4 separate regions of the Homo sapiens genome follow, and all the other regions are linked to region 1. The links are contacts of gene promoters, found by promoter capture Hi-C in blood cells and fetal thymus (Javierre and others, 2016). All regions are on one chromosome and are shown on one strand. The core of a region is centred on a gene start or on the middle of the fragment in contact, and the rest is flanking DNA. Distances in the headings are between cores, read along the strand shown. Region 1 holds the start of GSG1 (germ cell associated 1). Region 2 overlaps PDE6H (phosphodiesterase 6H). Region 3 overlaps ARHGDIB (Rho GDP dissociation inhibitor beta). Region 4 overlaps ATF7IP (activating transcription factor 7 interacting protein).

Region 1 (4,769 bases), core at 910-3,409:
TCTCTCTCTCTCTTTTTTTTTTTTTTTTCTTTTTTTGAGGCAGTCTTGCGCTGTCACCCAGCATCGCCCAGGCTGGAGTTCAGTGGCAGGATCATGGCTCACTGCAGCCTCAACTTCCCGGGCTCAAGCAATCCTCCCACCTCGGTCTCCCAAGTAGCTGGGACTACAAGCGCTCACAACCTCGCCCAGCTAATTTTTGTACTTTTCGTAGCAATAAGGTTTCACTGTGTTGCCCAGGCTGGTCTTGAACTCCTGGGCTCAAGTTATCCTCCTGCCTCGGCCTCCTGACGTGCTGGGATTAAGCATCCGGCCATAATCTCATTTTTAAAATTCAGATCTCTAGTCCATCTAGAGTTTATTCTTGTATATGATTTTTAAATAAATATAATTTATATTTTTCTAAATGGCTATCTAGTTTATCCCAACAACATTTCTTAAAAAAATCATCTGTGCCCCAGTGATTACAGATATCACCTTTGTCCTATACTGGAAGTCTATACATAGCTGTGTTTATCTCTAGACTTTCTGTTCTCTTCCATTGGCCTGTTTGTCTAGTCATGCACCAGTACCACATTGTTTTTTTTTGGTTTTTTTGTTTTTTTTAATATACTTTAAGTTCTAGCGTACATGTGCACAACGTGCGGGTTTGTTACATATGTATACATGTGCCATGTTGTTTTAATCATAGAGGCTTTGTAGTATGCTTTATATCAATTAGGGCTAGCACCACCTCAGAGCTCTTCCTTTTCAGGGTTTTCCTAGCTAGTCTTGTGTATTTTTTTCCCATATAAACTTTAATATCAACTTGTGTTGGTCTTTTAAAATACTCATGGTTATTTGTATTAAATTTATAAATTAACTTATAACGGACATCTTGATCAATTTAAGATGTGCCAAAAATAAGGCATGTTGTTCCATTGGGGAAGTTATTGGCACTTCGAGATCCGATGTTCTCTCTTAGATACTTCCTTAGGTAGTTTAGGTCATTAAATAAAATAATAAATATTTCTTGAGCAGCTACTATGCCCTTGGCACTATATTAAGCACGATAGAAGTAAAAAACCAGATTCTGTCCTCAAGCAGCTTAGAATTTCACGAGAGAAACAGACTAACACACCAAAAGCAAAGCAGGCATGCTGTATGAGCAAAGAGGAAATGGGGAGTAAGGAGGGCTAGAGCCACAAGGTAGTGAGACTGGAATCATGTGCCCTGAGGTTGTGTAAGATTTAGGCAGGGCAGCAAGGAGAAGGAAGGGATCCCAGTGAGGGGAACCCTGGCAAAAGCTCAGAGGAGGACTGAGTGTGACAGGTTTCACAGGGCAGAGGGCCCCATCCAGACTGTTAGCTGGAATCCTGGATGAGGCCCTCTTCCAGTCTCCGAGAGTTATGCCTCCATATTAACAGTCCCCAAACACTAATTATGTATTCATTAAAATGATGTTAGTGAATGTTTGCTGGGTTTCCAGATACTAGCCCTTTAGAATGGTAATTTCTGTACATTGTTACCTTTTCAGGGAATGGCCTTGAGTTGTGCCATCCAATACAGTAGCTACTTGCCATGTGTGGCTGTGGAGCCCTTATGATATGGATAGTGCAACTGAGCAACTGAATTTCTAATTTTATGTAATTTGAATTCACTAAATTTTAATTTTAAAATGAAAGTAGTATAAAATATTTTTCATTAAACCCAACTTTATTGTGTGGGGAGGGCTACATTTTAAACATAGTATTGTATAACATATGATTGCTGTATCACAGTATGTGTGTCCAATTTACTTTTTTTAATGTGGCTACCAGAAAATTTTAAATGACATATGCTGCCCACATTGCATTTTGCTTTGACAGCACTGGTCTAGAGTCTCACAACTCAGTGTGGTCTGGCTGGACTCACGTGAGAGCCATCCCAGACTCTGCACTTGACTAAGTCAGGATCTGCACTTGACTAAGTTCCCCAGGTGAATCTTATGCACAATAAGATAAGCACTGATCTGGACGACCTCAGAAGACATCCAGCCACTGGTAGGTACCCAGCATGACCCCCCCCAATCCTTATGGGAGGAGGCTGAGGGAGCAACAGGGAGACCCCTGACTGCCGTTGTGACATCACAGAATAAACCCCACGGGTCACCCAACCCCGCCCTGGCTGGTGTCTGGCCCTCAGGACATCCTCTCCAATCCACCACACACCACCTTACCCCTCTGCTGGCAAGAGGGGACCTGATTCATCCTCACGCTAAACACTCATTCTACCCAACTGATTGAGACAGAACAGAAGATAAACTGAAACTTCTCTGCCTTCCCGCTGCAAGAGTGAATGAGCGATCCCTCTCAACTGACTCAAAATGTTTGCCTCACCCAGGAGGTAGGTACAGTGATTTTGAAATCTCATGAACATCTCATACACATATCTTTACTGCTGGATTTGTAACACAGGTTACACTAACTCATCAATTTCATGTATTTCACATGGTCACAGTAAAGAGCTTGGAAATGCACTATAGGGTTCTACAAAATGGAATGAAAATGTGTCACTCAGCCCAGTTTTCATAGATAAAACTGGTATGTCCATACCTTGGCCTATTACCTTTTCATCTTCCTTCATTAAAACTTCCATTTCTTCTTCCCTTGTCTCATCATCTTCCTTCTCCTTTCTGTTCCCAGGGCTCCCTATGCCTCTCCTTTTTTCCTTTCATCTGCATTATTCCCGTTGCCAAAATCTGGAGCCTGGTAAAGGCCCAGTAGCGGTGGCAACAATAGAGCTGTGTGTCACCCCAGTGAGCTGAAAGAGCAGACATCAAGCTCTATGCCAGAGAACAGTGGGGCATCCCCAAGGTCCTGCTGGAAGGCAGCTCTGATCTGGAACTGGGAAGGACAACACACAGTCAAGCTCTTTCTCGTCTCAGAGAATCCAGCAGAATCTTCAGGGATCCTTCCAGACCAGGAAGACTCTCACACTCTGCAGAGAAGTTGCGGCTTGTTTAGCATTTGACCTACATTCAGAAACGACCAGCCTCCCAACTTTCAGCTCTAAGGATTACTTAAAAAAACAAATGGTGTTCATTCTCAGATATCTTGCCTTTCTCAGGAGAGAAAAATGAAGCTTGCAATTAGCCAGCAAACTAGCACATACACAAACACACACACACGTACATACACTCCAACACAGGGAGCAATGTGGTATGTTGTTGACCAGCTGGAAGTTAGGATCTCAAAGGAAAGAACAGGATAACTTAAGAGGCACTTCTGGGACTGCAGAGCTGAGCTGGTGGTTCTGAAGAGCCATCGGAGTGTGGGTTCAGGCAGCTTCCCTAATTCAGAAGCAGCCCCAAGTGAATAGATGACAAAGAAGTGGATGTGAACATGACAGAAAAAGCCAGTCATGGCTTAGAATAAATTTTATTATTGTTCTTTATCAGTGGTTTTCCAGGAGAGACACAGAGGGAATATGGGAGCGTCTGGTTGCTAATATGTACCTGAGAAGTATAAAGTACACTTAATCCATTGCCTCAATCTGCAGGAGGTCCCATAAATCTGGCCTGCAATCTGTACATTTTGTTAAAGGTGACTGTGCCTTGGCTTTTACTGAGTGGCAGCCTGGTGATGAGTCAGGCGAACAGTCCTCAAAGATTGCCAGTGTTGACTTTACCATTTACTAGCTTTGTGGCCTTGAGCAAGTCAAACCCTCCGAATCGGAACCCTCACTTGTAGAATGGGGATGCCACGTCCCTTTCAGGCTGGTTGTGAGGATTAAGGAAGATGTCTGAAGGGTCTAGCAAGGTGTCTGCTGGTAGCACAGGTGCACTTCCCCTTCGTTTCTGCTTAGAGGCACTCTTCTTCTACCTGTTTTCGATTTTCACAGAACTAAGAAGGACAACTCTTTGCCCTCATTTACCCCTGAGGGTAAATTTAACCCTCTGGGAGGTTAAGTAACTTGGCCAAAATCCTCAGTGCAGTCGTGCATTGGGTCGTAAATAGAACTCGGATCTGCTGAGGGGTCTGGGTGGTGAAGTCCCGCCCTGGGGTCTTCCCAATGAGACGCAGACATCCCCTTCCCTTAGAACGGGAGCCTGGGACCCATAGCTTTACCGGGCAGAGGCAGGGAAATGCCTGACTTTGGACTCCAGCAGCTCGACACATCCCGAGCCCTGGCCCACCGGCCTGGGTGTAAGGAATCCCTCCGACTACCCAGTCTCTCCGCCCTCCCGCGCAGCCTCGCCAGGCGGCAGAGGGGACGCGCCTCAGGTGGCCTAGCGCCCCGGCCCAGCTCCGGGACACATGTGGCCCCGCCCTCCGCGGCTCGCCGGGTCCCTGGCCTGCCCTGGCAGTCCCTGCTCTCTGGGAGGGCCCCCGGGACACCGTTCTCAACCGACGGAGGAAGACCCAGAGGAAGAAACAGCCCGGGTACCCCCGCCCGACCCGGTCAGGAAGCCATGGGTGGTTGGCGGCCGCGGGGCGGGGCCTCGCAAACAATGCCAAACACGGCCGGCCTGTCGCCGCGGCAACGCGCCCCGCTGCTAGGCGACCGGGCGCCGTAGTAAACGGGAGAGACGGCGCGTTACTCATCAGGGTGGGAGGGCGCGCTCGGAAGTGGAGATGGCGCGGCCCAGGCACCCCCGAGAGGCCCCACCCGTTACGCCCCCGCCCCGCCCCGCGGTCCCCAAGCGCCCCCGGCCCCAGCCGGCCTGCTGGCGCCGTCACCCGCGCGTGAGCGATTGCCCCACAGGATGTGCAGATGTGGCTGCCCCTCTGATTCACTCCAGCTGCTTGGGG
Region 2 (4,769 bases), core at 710-3,209, 1.9 Mb before region 1:
AACTCCCCCCGGGCGGCTGATGTTTCCCTTTCAGCCTCCTTAGACAGTGAAAGATAAAAAAAAGAAGATCTTTCAAGTCATGGGGACCATTGGTTATTAGATCTTTATTTCAGGCTGGAGAAGAAAAGTACTTCAACAAGAAAGCTCAGTATTTTGTGTTGACACAAAAGGGGAGAAGTTATCATCTTTAAAAGGGATCTTTAAGAAAACAGAGTATAAATCAATGCAGGCACTTAATGGAATGGAATGGAAACTTACCTTCTGCTACATTACTTACACAATCTATCAGTTGTGTAAACGGACAATTGATAGATTTTAAAACTCAGAAATCTAGGTAGCTATGCTGTTCCCATGGATCTGCCACTGAAAACAATTTTTAAATAAATAAATTAAATTAAAGCTTCACATTAGGTATAACAAATTAAAATTTAAAAATAAATAAATAAAATAGATTTGCCACAAGCATTCTACGTGAATTTATTATGATGCTGTACTTCTCTGTGACTACCAGTTCTGTCAGTTACGAAGAGAGGAAAATGGACTCAGTGATATCTATAGTCTTTTACAGCATCTGCAATTTCTTTAAGCTTTACATATTCTTCCATCCAGCTGTAAAATAACCTGACTCTAAATGTTTATTGAGCATTTTTTATGGCCTCTGTTTTTTTATAGTCCTTCATGTCCTTATAGTTTAAGATAGGATTATTTTGTTTAATCCTCACATGAACCAGAAACTTCTCTCTTAGTTCTGGGAGATGACAGTGTAGTTGTCTGGACAGGAGGACCTCTGAAGCAGGAATACCAACACCCATGAATATATTCAACACATCTTAATACACACGCACATACAGAAGTTAATGAAGGATAATTAAGTAATACGTTTGTGCTTCAACTCTACGTCGAGACATAAGGTTCTTCAGCCCCCACTTTTCACAAATCTTCAATGCCTTCTTCTATCCACACCACGGACCTATCCAATATGGTGTTCTCAGACTTTAATTTGGCTACAGAAATGCACATTGCCATTCTTCAAATACAAATCAAAGAAAATTATTGAAAAAGATAAATTTAAGCAATTAATGTGTCATTTTGGATGACGTTATTTTCTTTCTTCCTTTCTTTCGTAAGAGTTAACAAAACTTGCTCTTGGAAGGAAGATCCTGAAAAGCCCCAGAGAACTCCAAATTGCTTTTGCCTCTTACCCTGAGACAGTCTCCTCTATAAAAACTAGTGTGTGGGGGCTTTGTCTCCATAAGATTCCTTATTTCACCCATTGCAGATTTATGCTAATATTCTTTTTTCTTTTTTTTTAAGAGAGACAAGTTCTTGCTCCATCAGCCAGGCTGTAGTGCAGTGGTGCAATTGCAATCATAGCTCACTACAGCCTCAAACTCCTGGGCTCAAGTGACCCTCCCGCCTCAGCCTCCCGAAGTGCTAGGTTTACAGGCATGACCCATCACACCAGCCTATGCTAATACTGTTAACTGCAAACCTCCCTGACAGTCTTTGGCTCGTGCTAACAATGACTCTCTTTACTGGCCACACTGCATATTCCTGAAACCTCATATTCTATAACTTCCAGTCCATACTGTTTTCTTATTTCCTTGACAATTGGGTTGCAATTATTATCCTCGCCTCCAAGATTTTTCTCTTATTTAAATTCTGATTATTACTAAATTATTACCCTTGCCAGTACCAGGGATGGTGAGATTGGCCAGGACCCTGGACCACCTGCTCATGCTGTGATTCCTTCCTTTATCCCCTACTGGACTAGCTTCATGAGGCTGTCCTTCCAGTCTCAGAACCTACAACAGTGCATGGTGTACAGTAATCATGCCATATATATTATATTTGTCAAATGAGTTAATAAATTAATTTAGAAATTGAACAGGCCAGGCACGGTGGCTCACGCCTGTAATCCCAGCACTTTGGGAGGCCGAGGCGGGCGGATCACGAGGTCAGGAGATCAAGACCATCCTGGCTAACACGGTGAAACCCCATCTCTACTAAAAATACAAAAGATTAGCCAGGTGTGGTGGCGGGCACCTGTAGTCCCAGCTACTTGGGAGGCTGAGGCAGGAGAATGGTGTGAACCCAGGAGGTGGAGTTTGCAGTGAGCTGAGATTGTGCCACTGCACTCCAGCCTGGGCGACAGGGCAAGACCCCGTCTCCAAAAAAAAAAAACAAAAAAAAAAAACAAAAGAAATTGAACAAATACTGTAAACCTTGGTCATGAGATCCTGACCCTTTGACTTCTCCATCAGAGCACAGAGAAGTCATTAGCTTTCAGGCTTTAGGAAATGCACTGCCAGTTCCTCTGCTCACTAAATTCAGTTCCCGTTCTGTGGGCCCTCTCTACCCCCGGTAGACAGGCAAACCTTGTGTCTGTCCCAAGTGTGGTTGGGACCCTGGGAATAGCTGGTGAGCAGCCAAGATCTGCGCTGTGCTCAGAGTGGACCACCAGTAACTGACACATCCCAGCCCTGCCAGAGTCACAGAGGGCAGCTAGAGAATTGCTCTCAGATCAAGGTTTTTGAACTGCCCAGGATTTTCAAGGTAGAAGAAATCAAAAAGTTTCTTTTCTCTCATCTAAAGAATCTATTAGGGTTAGAATTGCCAGATTAAGCCAAAAAAAAAAAAATTACAAGACACCCAGTTCAATTTGAATTACAAAGAAATAATTTTTTTTAGTAAAGTATATCTCAGCTGTTTCATGGTACATATTTATACTTTAAAAAGTCATTTTTTTTCTGGAATTCAAATTGAACTGGCATCCTTCATTTTTATCTGGCAGCCCTAATAAGATCCAATTGAGTTGGATCCAGAGTTCTATAATGTAAGGGCCTAAAGTGACCCTCATTTGTCAAATTGTCCTTTGATGGTAACACGGTAGAGAGTACACTCTTTAGAATCAAACTGATATAGTTTTAAGTTCCTACTCCACAGAACTGGCTACGTGACTTAGGATAAATTTCATAATCCTCTGTGGGTCTTATTCCATCTATAAAATGAATCAAACAAGACCTTCCTTTTAGAGTTATGGGGAAATTTTAGGAAGACAATATAAGTAGAGTGGTACAAAGTGTTCAAAAAGGGCAAATATATGCTAGACCTTCTGAGAGAAAAGAAAGCCATGCAAACAAATCTGTGGTTATGACACTTGTTCACCTGGACTCTGCACCTCCTTCCTCTGGGCCAACTGCTGAAGGGCCCTTGCCATACACCAGAGGGGCAATTATCATCTGCCCTCGCTGGGTAATTCTCTGCTTCCTTCAAACACCCCGACTGTTAACTTATTTCTGGTCTTAAAATTCTGTCTTAAGAAGCTTTCCTTGAATTCCTTTGACACCCCAACAGCAACCCCGAAGAATTTAAAAATCACACGTGACATCCATATTCCCCAATGATACATCCCCTTTTTTCTTGCAAGTTTCTTTTGCATTTTTACATAATTTTGAAGTTACACCTCTAGGCTTAGAAAGTGTTCATGTCTGAGTATGATGCATTATATGAAAGAAGCCTCCTCAGAAAGAGTTACATAACAGTTGCCAGGTTAATCCCTTGATCCTAATGGTGCTCAGGATTTGCACTAGGTAACCGGAACAGTCGACTAATCCCTATGCAGTTTCTGTCATAGATTTACCCTCCAATTCTCTCTGCAAAACCTTTAGGAAGGGTAGAACACCTCTGACCTTTTCCTGCATTGGAAGCCAGTCCTGTTGTCCATAAACATCACCAAAGGCTAACCTCATGCTGACCACACCTTTCTAGAAATTCTAAGGGCATCTGGAGCTGAGTAACCTTAAATGTATTATCAGACTTGATTTTAGCTGAAAGAAGTTTCATATTTTTTCCTCCAAAAGCATTAGGCAATTTATTCTTTTGTGAGCCAGAACATTTTCCTGTATTTAAAGCAATGTTAGCCCTTCCCCTTTTGAAGATTACAAACTGTTTTTCTGCAGAAATAAGTGGATGCAGCAAAGTAATATTTCAAGGCATACTTTTTTAGGGGACTGGGATTAGGGTCAACTTAACAAAGTTAAAGATTTGTATAAAGCAAAAAATCATCTTCTGTTTCTTTATACAGCAAAGCCCAGCTCTATATAGTGACAGAGGATGATCCTCTGAAAAGCAGTTTTAGGAGGTTCCTGAGACAGCTCTCTGATGCTGCTGTTATCACCTTACACTTCCAGTTCTCTTTTTCTCAGCAAAGCTATAGACAGGTAGACCAGTCCATTGTTGGTGGACAAAGAAAGAGGCAGGAAGGAGCTGGGAAGGGAAGTACTGCTGGGGTTGAGCCCATAAATATCACCCAGGGTCCTGCTGAGGCAGAGAAAATCAATAATTTGAAAAGCAAAGCAAGACCCAAACCAAAGCCATAAAAAAAAAATTACCAAAATTCCAGCCAGCACCCTGCTTCAGAATGGAACAAACACTTGACCTCAAAGGGAGAAGGCTCAGCCACCTGCCCTGCCCTGTGGTCATTCTCATGCTCTCAGCTCCCCTTCTCCTTTTCCTCACACTCACACCATCCTGGGCCAAGTTTGCAGGCACATCCTGGGAGTAAAGAACTGTTTTCTCTGTGGTTATTTAGTGCCACAGATTCCTCCTTCTTCAGAAAACTGTTTACTATGAAGCTGCAAACAGGGAGGTCACTATTGGGCTCCTTCTAAATGAATTCAGTAATCAAGTTTTGCAGTGACCTTGTAATAATCAAGTTTCACTTATTTGCTTGTCCCATGGCATAACAAGAAGGTCTGCATGTATCT
Region 3 (4,769 bases), core at 893-3,392, 1.9 Mb before region 1:
GCCTGCAATCCCAGCACTTTGGGAGGCCGAGGCGGGTAGATCACCTGAGGTCAGGAGTTCAAGACCGGCTTGACCAACATGGTGAAACCCCATCTCTACTGAAAATACAAAATTAGCTGGGTGTGGTGGTGCATCCCTGTAATCCCAGTTATTTGGGAGGCTGAGGCAGGAGAATCACTTGAACCCAGGAGGCAGGGGTTGCAGTGAGCCAAGATCACGCCATTGCACTCCAGCATGGGCAACAAGAGCGAAACTCTGGCTCAAAAAATAAAAATATTAATAATGATAATAGCCCTTTAGGTATGAGATAACTAACAGCAAACATGGAAAACACCAAATAACGTATTAAGAGACAGGTTTGAGAAAAATTCAAGGGGGCCCAGCTAGGACAGCTGATCAGTGGGCCTTCAAAATGTCAAGGTCTGAATTTCAGCCACCATTAGGAGAAGTGCTTTAGGTATGACCTGAAATACTTTCTTCCCTTTTAGAGGACTTCCCAGCCAGCATGTTTCATAAACATAATCTGTAATTAAACTCTAGACCTATGGTAACTTGAGGTGTGTGTCTGGCAAGCCCTGGGCAGTTCTTCATTCAGAGTGGGGAAAGGCAGACTGCTCTCACCCGGAGGGCTCATGGTCACCACTTCACATGGAGACCTAGAGCCCCTGGAGTCAGGGTTGGCCTGGCCATCTTCACTGCAGGGATGGTCAGGCACAGGAGATCAAGAGGACCATGGCACCTGTTGGTCCGGAGAGACAGGGGGCAGAGGTCCAGTCCCTAGCAGGCATCGTGAATCTTGCCATTGGCTTTGTGTTTTTTTAATTTGTAAGAATATATTCCCTCCCAAAGCAGATATAGCACAAGCTTAGTAACAAGAGCATCTTACTCTTTTGTGAGATGTGTGAAATTCTAAGAGACAGTTCTTTCTCCATCCATGCTTCACAGATGCAAAACCTGAGGACTAACTATGCTGTCACTGAACAGAAACTGGCAAGCATTTTTCAGGCCTCGACTGGAATTTGGTCCTTCCTTGCTTTGGAGAGCATGAGTTTGTCCCCTAGGGAAGTTAGCTCTGAGCAACATTAAGGTTCTGTTTTCAGTAGACACTCAGCACCACAAAGTCATTCTGAGGGAAAGATACGGGTCTGAGCTGATTTGGGAGAGCACAGTACATGACAAACATCAGCTAGCAGGAAAAGAGAAGCCCTGGGGAGTCGAAATTATGCAGATAGAAAAGGAGAACCAACATTCATTGAGTGCCTTCTATGTGTCAGGCCTGGTGATAAAAACTTTCAAATTTTGTTCCTGAGAAGAATGCAGAAGTGTTCAATAATTTGACTAAAATTACATACTGATACAAAAAGGATCAATAGCCACAATGCCTCTGAATTGCAATTCACAGGGCATGGTGGTGCGTGCCTGTGGTCCTACCTACTCAGGAGGCTCACGTGATCCTCCCGCCTCAACCTCCCGAGTAGCTGGGACTATAGGCGCGCATCACCACGCTGGCTAATTTTACCATTTTTAGTAGAGACGGGGTTTCTCCATGTTGCCAGGGCTGGTCTTGAATTCCTGGGCTCAAGCAATCCGCCTGCCTTGGCCTCCCAAAGTCCTGGGATTAAAGGCGTGAGCCACCATGCATGGCCTATTATTATTTTTTTGAGACAAGTCTCACTCTGTCACCCGAGCTGAAGTGCAGGGGCGTGAACGCAGCTCACTGCAGCCTCGACCTCCTGAGGCTCAGGTGATCTCCCACATTCTTTAGGAAGAATCACATGGAAGAAATTTTCTCCAATTCCATATTTTGAGAGTTCTTATTCCTGGTTTGTGTTATTGCTGCCCGGGATCCTGTATTCAAGGCTACACTGGCATACCCAGAGATGAGTCTCATGTTGCCCCTGAAACGTCAGCAACATTTATCTGTGCAATAAGCACATCCTGAATCATCCTGTGTTGTGTTACTCTCTGGTGTCCACAGCCAAAGAGTGAATTTTACCGCTGGTAAAAATTCACTTGGGCTTTCTTAAAGAGCCTAATAATCTTAGCACAAACGGTCATAAAAAAAATTCTCTCTCAATTCTGTCTAACTTTTCATGCTAATTTAAAACTTTTGTGAATATATTGAGATACTGAAGGCAATGGCTTCCTTAATGCACAGTTTTCTTTGAGAATTATTTAAAATAATATTTGTGAAGGTACTTGGTGGCATGACTTCACACGTTGGGCACTCAGCAAAGCTCACGGGATCTCTTTGAGTTCTCTCTCTTTGTGCATATGAATGTGGGTTAGAAAAACACACTAAAAAATGCACAGGCAAGAAATAATAAATTGTTTCTCTCACAAAGACAAATGGTAAGAAATTACGTTTCTAGTAATTTGTGCCCTTCTCTGGATTGATTACAATATTTATTGTCTCTTACAAAATAATCTTGTCTTTGGTTTTTCTCATCCAGTTTTGAAGTTTTCGTAGTCCTTCATGGGGCTGAGGTGGTAGAAAGCAGCACCGCAAAGTGGGGAGTATGGATTCCTCCATGTCACCAGGGACAGGGGCGGTGGGGAGAGGGTGGAATCCCGAACCAAGAAGGCTTCTGGTGTCCTGAGAGACAAATTTGCAATCCCGTAATACACCAAATTGCCAGGCAAGCAGCACAGCACATTCAAATCCTTGACTAGCTCTGAAATGTCAACAGTGTTTTAGAGATGGCCTGACTCTCCAGACCTGCACTAGACCCACAGCCCGATTTGGGGGAAGTCAGACATATCCTAGTCAGCAGGGAAAGTGGAGGTAGCAGGAGTTACAGAGAATGCTGATGCTCACATAGGAACTTCTCTGATAGAAATCCCCTACTTCTGGTATTTCCACTTTTCTCTCTCTCTTCCCTCTCTCTCTTTCTCCCTTCTCCCTCCTCTCTCTCTCCTCTTTCTCTCTCCCTCTTTCCCCTCTTCCTTCTCTCTCTCTCATCGCTATCTCTTCTACCTAATACATTAATATCCATGGCCTGTGTGTCTAGATGCATAATCCAGCACAATTTTGCAGATCCAGCTTTGGGCCGTGAGTTAAGTCTCTGTGGTATTTTGCTCCAGAGCCAGAGGGAATTCTCTTCATTAGCTGTGCCTGTGTTCACTGACATTTCTCATCATTCGCAGAGTGACCTCTGGCTTCAATGAAGACAGGGAGCAATAAATAAAACCTAAAATTAAATTGTTTACATGAAAGTTTTTAAAAGAAATATAATATAGTCTCATTTTAAGGTTGATTCAGTTTTTAAACAATCCTTTCAATTCCCCAGAACTTCTTATCTCTTTAATACTCCTCAAAGACAAAAATCTATTTTTAAGGAGGAAGGAGTGGGGACATAGCTCCCATCCAGGGGAAAGTATTTGGTGTGGAAACAGTTACCTAGCTTCAGTGAAGCTTTGCAACAAAGCAGACCACACTGGGGCAGGGAAGGAAGAAGAGGAAGGGAACAAATATTCACGGAACATCTATTCTTGACCAGTATAGTCCTATAATTTTTCATGTGTTTTCTCCAATCTTTCAACCCCGTAAAAAAGAATATCCCCATTTTAGTGGTGATAAAACTGAGGCTCAGTGAAATTAGCAACTTGATTGAGTCCTGTCATAATGCAGAGCCTGGTTTTGAATCCCTGGTCCATCTGACTCAATCTATGTTCTATGAGACATGAAAGTCACCTTTCTCTGAATTACCCAGGTAATTTGTTTAATCTAAACTCAGGAGTTCTACCTTTTCTTGTCCTCAGTTCATTTAGAGCTGCATTAATGAAACAGATGATGCTCTATCCTGACATGGGTGTAAATTTTTAAGTGTAATTCACTTTCAAAGTCTTGGAAATTTCACTGAATTTGCAAGCAAAAACATTGATGTGTGCTATGTCATATGCATGCTGTGAGTAACCATCCTAATTTAATTCGACATTTTAATTGAGCCTGAGAAGATTAAGTCCCCATCTCAGCACATCTAATGCTTGCCAGTGCTTTGCTGAGTAGCAAACATGAGGATGTGAGGCCTCCAATGTGAAAGTTAATCTGTATGCGCATCTGTGAAGCAGAAAATACAGAAAACTAGAGTAGCAAGCCTGTGTGAAAAAATGATATGTGCTTTGGGGCCTAATAAATGGGGTCCACATTAACCTGGTTAAACATATAACTGTTCATTCTCCATTTCATTTTTCCTGTGCAAAGGACCAAAGTCAAAAATAAGCAAAACTCAGCTCTGCCCTTTGTAGAATAGGGGATGAGCAGCTGAGGAAGGTGAGGAAAGCCCATCCAGAAGATTCTATGCTGATGGGCTGAGTCCTCCCCAATCTCCCTTTTACTTCCTCTTTTCTTTTCTCATTTCACAAGCTTCTTTAAATTAGGGAGCATTTGAGTCATTAAATTAAGAAGGGGCCTCAGAGATCCTCTCATGCCACGGCTTCTTTTTGCAGAGGATGAAACTGGGGCCCAGTGAGGTTAAGCAACTTGCAGGAGGTAACGCAGGAACCGAGTTGCGCTGAAACATCGTTATCTGACACTTCCCTGCTTTGTTAAAGCTGTCTCTGCAGAGCTTGCAAAGAAGCATTTACCTCTGCTTGTGCACCTCCAGGTAGATTCCCAAGATGACTAACAAACTCTAATTTTATTATAACTTCTTAAAGATGACTGAAGCAATAAAGCATAGTGCCTAAAAGTCAGACAACCTGGGCGCAGACATTAATTCTGCCTACCACGTGGTATGTCTTCTTAGGCAAGTTACTTAACGTGAACT
Region 4 (4,769 bases), core at 1,502-4,001, 1.3 Mb before region 1:
TGGAATAAGCTCGTCAATGTCAGAAAAAGGTAGCAAAAACAGTATTCAAATTCAGGTTTGGACCCTTGGCCAGTGCCACCACCCTAACATTTCTCTTAGAGGCTTATGCAGATGAAATTGTTCATGAAAAAGGGTAAACAAAAGGGGAGAATTTTTAAAAGTGACAAAATAACATCATAAAACTTCAATTATTCAGCTCCCAGATTTATTATGCCCTCAATTACCCAGCATAATAGCTAACTGGAACTTGGAACAGAAAATTTGAGAACTATCACCAATCCCAAAAGCAATCATCTCATTAAGGGGTAATTTATGCTTACAGTTGCAAAAATGCAACACAGCAGGGAAAGAATTAGCAATAATATCCTGAGTAACCATAGGGCATTAGTATTTCCTCATGTACAGGTAATAATCTTGTAGAGGGTAGCGGCAAATATTACAGTTAGCAATAGAAGGCAAAAAGACTGGGTTATTAAAATTTCCCTAAGATCCCACTCAAGACCAGCATAAACTGCTCAATAATTTCAACATGGACAGTTTTTCGACATTATATAAAATGTTTTGAAATACACATATTTTTAAACACTAGAGTCTCCTCCCCTCCCACTCTCGCCACCAAGAAAATGAGCTGTTATTACTATTAAAAGGCATGAAAATAAGAGTGATCAAGGTCACAGCACATTCACTTTTCTATGTCATACTCACTCCAAGGATAACCTTACTGAAAGGAATGATGAATAGAATCCCTCAAACACATTGAAATGTTTTTCTTTTTCTTTTTTAGGTACAGTTCATATGACTGAATGATTTACATAAATTAGTGTTCAAATTATGAGAATCTACTATGTCATATAAGACAGTCCTAAAGATTTTACAATGTAGTGACTAAAGTGAAACAAAAATGCTAAAGCTGTTGATGAAACTGAGATAAATACTGATCCCAGAATATATTTTAAGCCACTAAATAAATGGACACTGATTTAATTAGGAAAAACAATTATTTTGTTTAAAAAAAATGTAAATAACAAATATAAACACAAGGCTGAGACAAGTCAACAATTTTAAACTGTTAAGTCATGTACATATAGATCTTATATTCCATCTTCATGAACATCAAAAATCAACATAACGAAGACACATTCTAGAATAATTTTCAAACTGAATTCCACAGTGCCTTAAGAGGCCAAGGTTCTACAAATAAGTGAACTAGATCTGGATCTAATACAAGATTATAATTGTCATGTACGATCTCGTTTCCAAGTTTTGTTTATCTTAATAGCATAATTATTGTCATTTTATTAAATACACATGACATGTGAATAAGTTTACAATATAAAATAAGTACATAACAATAAAATATCACGTGTCCTTTTGTTTCTTAAGCCTTGCAGAATTAAGCAGAAACCATAAGTATCCCTTTTATATATTGGAATCCTCCCTAAGAGTTTAACATGCAAAAAGTTTCTGTTTTTAGAAAGCTGCTCTACTCAGAAAGTTTAGAACTTACTGTTCTATGTCATATAAGTCAGGGATATATTCTTAATACTCTACGGACAAAACCAGGAGTATATTATACCAGCTAAAAAATATTTTAACAGGTACTGCAATTTAAGTATTGCTGCTTAAAGTATGCCTTTTCTGCTATCTGAAATACTACGTGAATAAGAATTTCATTCTCCCATCTTTCTGGGTAACCACAGACTTACAGTATCTCAATAAACATTTCTACTCCAGAACGATGTTAAGAAAGCTTTTTAAACTTTTTGAAATTAAATTTACAAAATCATTGAGCTATATTTCTTTTAAATATACTACAGGTTTGAATTAAGACTAAAATGAAAATATAACTTAATTAACTGAGTACTTCAGCTCTGATGGTATTTGAATACATTAGATATATTTTTTAAAAAGAGGTATCCATGACTAGATGTGAATTTATTTCTAAATTCAAAATCTGAATCTGAATGCCAACTTAAGCAAAAAGTAATTTGAACAAAGAAGCAAAGCAGCATTAAAAATGTCAAAGAGTTGGATACTGGGAGGAGGCAGCATGATGAGAAAGAACTGCAACCCATAATGCCAAAAAAAAAGATTTTGGACAGTATTAAAAATTTTTTTTCATGATTTATATAATTACCCTTCTTTCCAAAAAGCTTCCACACAATACCTCACAAAACCGTAGAAAAATTGTAGTCTTTGTGCAAAACAAGGCTTACTTATGGATCCTTTAAAAAAAAAATCTATTCAGATAATATATTGTTTTAATTTCTACAAATAAATACCAAACACACTAAAATAGCCTACACAAAAGGAATATTACATTAATTAGGGCCAGAAATGCACTACTATGGTGATCAAATGTTCTGGCAATGACAGAACATAAAATGGTGAGAAATTACAGGAATTTAACCTTTGACCCCACCATGCTATGTACTGTTTCCATAATAAAGGCTTAAAGGTTCTACCAAACATTTCAACTTTTTAAAAACCAAGCTCTAAGTTCACCCCTCTAAGTAAACTCAGTTAAATTCCTTTTTAAAAAAGAAAAAAATGAGAATGTTTAAGATAAAAGAGTAATTGGTTCTTACCTCTGGTCCTGATGCATGTGACAAGTCTCCTCACTGACATACTTGCTGCCTAAGCAGCTACAAAGACTAGGTTAGCAGCCATTTTGAGACAGCTGCACAGTCTCAGTTGCACAAAAGTGTAATTAAGATGGCTGCAATGTGCACTCAAGAACTCACACAGTGAAAACTCAGCTATGTAACAAACAAAGCCCCTCCCACTTTGTCAGCCTGCAGGAAACTGAACATAGACAACAGCTAATGCATATACTGCAACAAACAATGCAGCTACACAGGACACAGAAAAAGAAAACAGAAGGCAGCAAGCCAGTTTTGTAACATAATGCCTGTGAATCCCGTCTTGCAATACAGACTTTGGGCACATCCAGATCCCAAACAACTTGAAATCCATGCCACATATTAGCAGTTACAGAGATGGAGCCAAATCACACAGAGCAAACATCAGGGAATTCGCTTGAAAGAAAGCCTCCATTTCAGTCCAGAAAAAAAAAAAAAAAGTTAAACCTTGCTCAAGGCCTTTTTTTTTTTTTTACCTTTTATAGTTTTATCATGAAAAGAATTTCAATTTTATAATTTCTAGAAAATTGTTTAAATCCTGAAAATGACTTGATTGATTAAGTTAATTTCAATTTATAGAAGGCTAAAGATTTTCTCCACAGAATCTAAAAGCCCCAAAGTGCTCAAATCTAGCAGAACAGTTAAAGCCTACAATTAAATTTTTGAACCTTGATAACAGAATCTCTAGAAGATGGCAAAAAGCTTATTGAGTAATTTACCATAGATATAAAAATAATTTCTTCTCTTCAGTAGTACAGATGGTCACAAACATTAACATCCCCAGGTGAGTGTTTAGTCCCAGGGCAAATTACATTTCATGCCCTGACAAAGACCTCCCAACTTTTTGATGTGAGTGAAAAGCAAATAAAAACAAAGAATTATAGGCACCCTGATGGAAAGAAGGGAATTTTAAAAAAGAGTAAAACTCAGTCTAATAGATATATTAGCAAGACAAATTTGAAAGAGCTCCAACAAATGTGGGTTGGCAGAAACATATCAATCAAAGAGAAGGGAAGGACAAAAGCACAGAGAGAACCTGTTCACATCAGCAATAGAATCCACATTTTCTTTCTCTCTTCCTCAGTCTACCTTCCTAAAATCTAGCTAACCTGTGTATCTTGTTCTATCTATCACTAAATATAGGTATTTACTAAAAAGTTTTAAGGGTATAGGGGAGTAATAGGGATATAGCTAAAAGGAGATTGGCCCTATGACTTGACAATGGTTCAAGCTGAGCAATGGGCACACAGAATTTATTATCTCATTCTATTTCAGTATATATTTGAAATTTTCCATAATAAAAGTTTTTTAAATTACTTATCTTTAAAAGGTCCTTATGTATTTTCCATGAGGCAAAATGAATAATGTATGTAACAACTTCAGTATATCAGAAAAAAAAAGTTAAACTTGATCCAAGCCATATTAATTCTTTAAAAATACAACTGTGATTCTCAAGCAAAGACTATTCATTAAAAGCAAGATTTAGGCCAAGCACAGTGCTTCACACCTATAATCCCAACACTCTGGGAGGCCAAGGCGGAAGGCTCTCTTGAAGCCAGGAGTTTGAGACCTGCGTGGCCAACAAAGCGAGATCTCTGTCTGTCTCTACAAAAAAAATTTTTAAAACATTAGCAGGTGTGGTAATATGAACCTGTAGTTCCAGCTACTCAAGAGGCTGATGCAGGAAGATCACTTGAGCCCAGAAGTTCAAGGCTACAGTGAACTTGAACCACTGCACTCCATCCAGCCTAGTCAACAGAGCCAGATCCTGTCTCAAAAAAAATTATAATTAAAAACAAAAGCAAGATTTGGTAAATTGAGAAAGGCTGGAACAGAATTGATATTACTGTAGCACTGGAATCTATGTTTAATTGGGGGGTGGGGAAAGATGGTACACATAGCCAAAATATTCAGAGCTGCCTAATGAACACTTTCTTACATTCTGGAAGCAAAGTGTTTTTAGGAAGTCTGATCCACAAAGATTTAAATTATGGAACACACTGTCAAATGGATGATATCTTCTTCAAGCCTCCCTTCTCTTGCCAAATACTTTTCCAATGTAAATCCTGACTACTTTTTTCTTAGTCTAAACATAGTCTACCAAGAGAAAGCTGCTGGCTACTAATA

Evidence for each region. Contacts are between HindIII fragments. The CHiCAGO score rates a contact against its expected background, and 5 or more counts as called.
Region 2: a contact is called between a fragment that was not itself captured here and the fragment with the promoter of GSG1 in region 1, in 1 of 17 cell types (M2 macrophages). The highest score is 5.2, in M2 macrophages.
Region 3: a fragment that was not itself captured here is called in contact with the fragment with the promoter of GSG1 in region 1 in 1 of 17 cell types (M1 macrophages); the score reaches 6.3 in M1 macrophages.
Region 4: a contact is called between a fragment that was not itself captured here and the fragment with the promoter of GSG1 in region 1, in 2 of 17 cell types (M1 macrophages and M0 macrophages). The highest score is 5.5, in M1 macrophages.

Annotation. Positions count from the first base shown.
Region 1 is chr12:13,101,057-13,105,825 of GRCh38, reverse strand. GSG1 (germ cell associated 1) reads left to right here and starts at 2,159. Exons shown (of 7, transcript NM_001080555.4): 1 at 2,159-2,361. The coding sequence starts at 2,314. LOC105369666 (a long non-coding RNA gene) reads right to left here and starts at 4,396. Exons shown (of 2, transcript XR_931369.3): 1 at 4,086-4,396; 2 at 3,380-3,839. RefSeq lists silencers at 4,221-4,270, 4,551-4,769. The HindIII fragment of the contact is 5,406 bases long and covers 1-3,101 here.
Region 2 is chr12:14,973,241-14,978,009 of GRCh38, reverse strand. It overlaps PDE6H (phosphodiesterase 6H), which reads right to left. Exons shown (of 4, transcript NM_006205.3): 2 at 1-38. Among named protein-coding and RNA genes, the nearest start is that of PDE6H, 2.6 kb to the right of the region's middle. The HindIII fragment of the contact is 2,739 bases long and covers 590-3,328 here.
Region 3 is chr12:14,956,014-14,960,782 of GRCh38, reverse strand. The region is part of intron 1 of ARHGDIB (Rho GDP dissociation inhibitor beta); the gene reads left to right. Among named protein-coding and RNA genes, the nearest start is that of ARHGDIB, 3.2 kb to the left of the region's middle. RefSeq lists enhancers at 730-839, 4,448-4,617. The HindIII fragment of the contact is 2,551 bases long and covers 867-3,417 here.
Region 4 is chr12:14,383,220-14,387,988 of GRCh38, reverse strand. The region is part of intron 1 of ATF7IP (activating transcription factor 7 interacting protein); the gene reads right to left. Among named protein-coding and RNA genes, the nearest start is that of ATF7IP, 20 kb to the right of the region's middle. The HindIII fragment of the contact is 1,191 bases long and covers 2,156-3,346 here.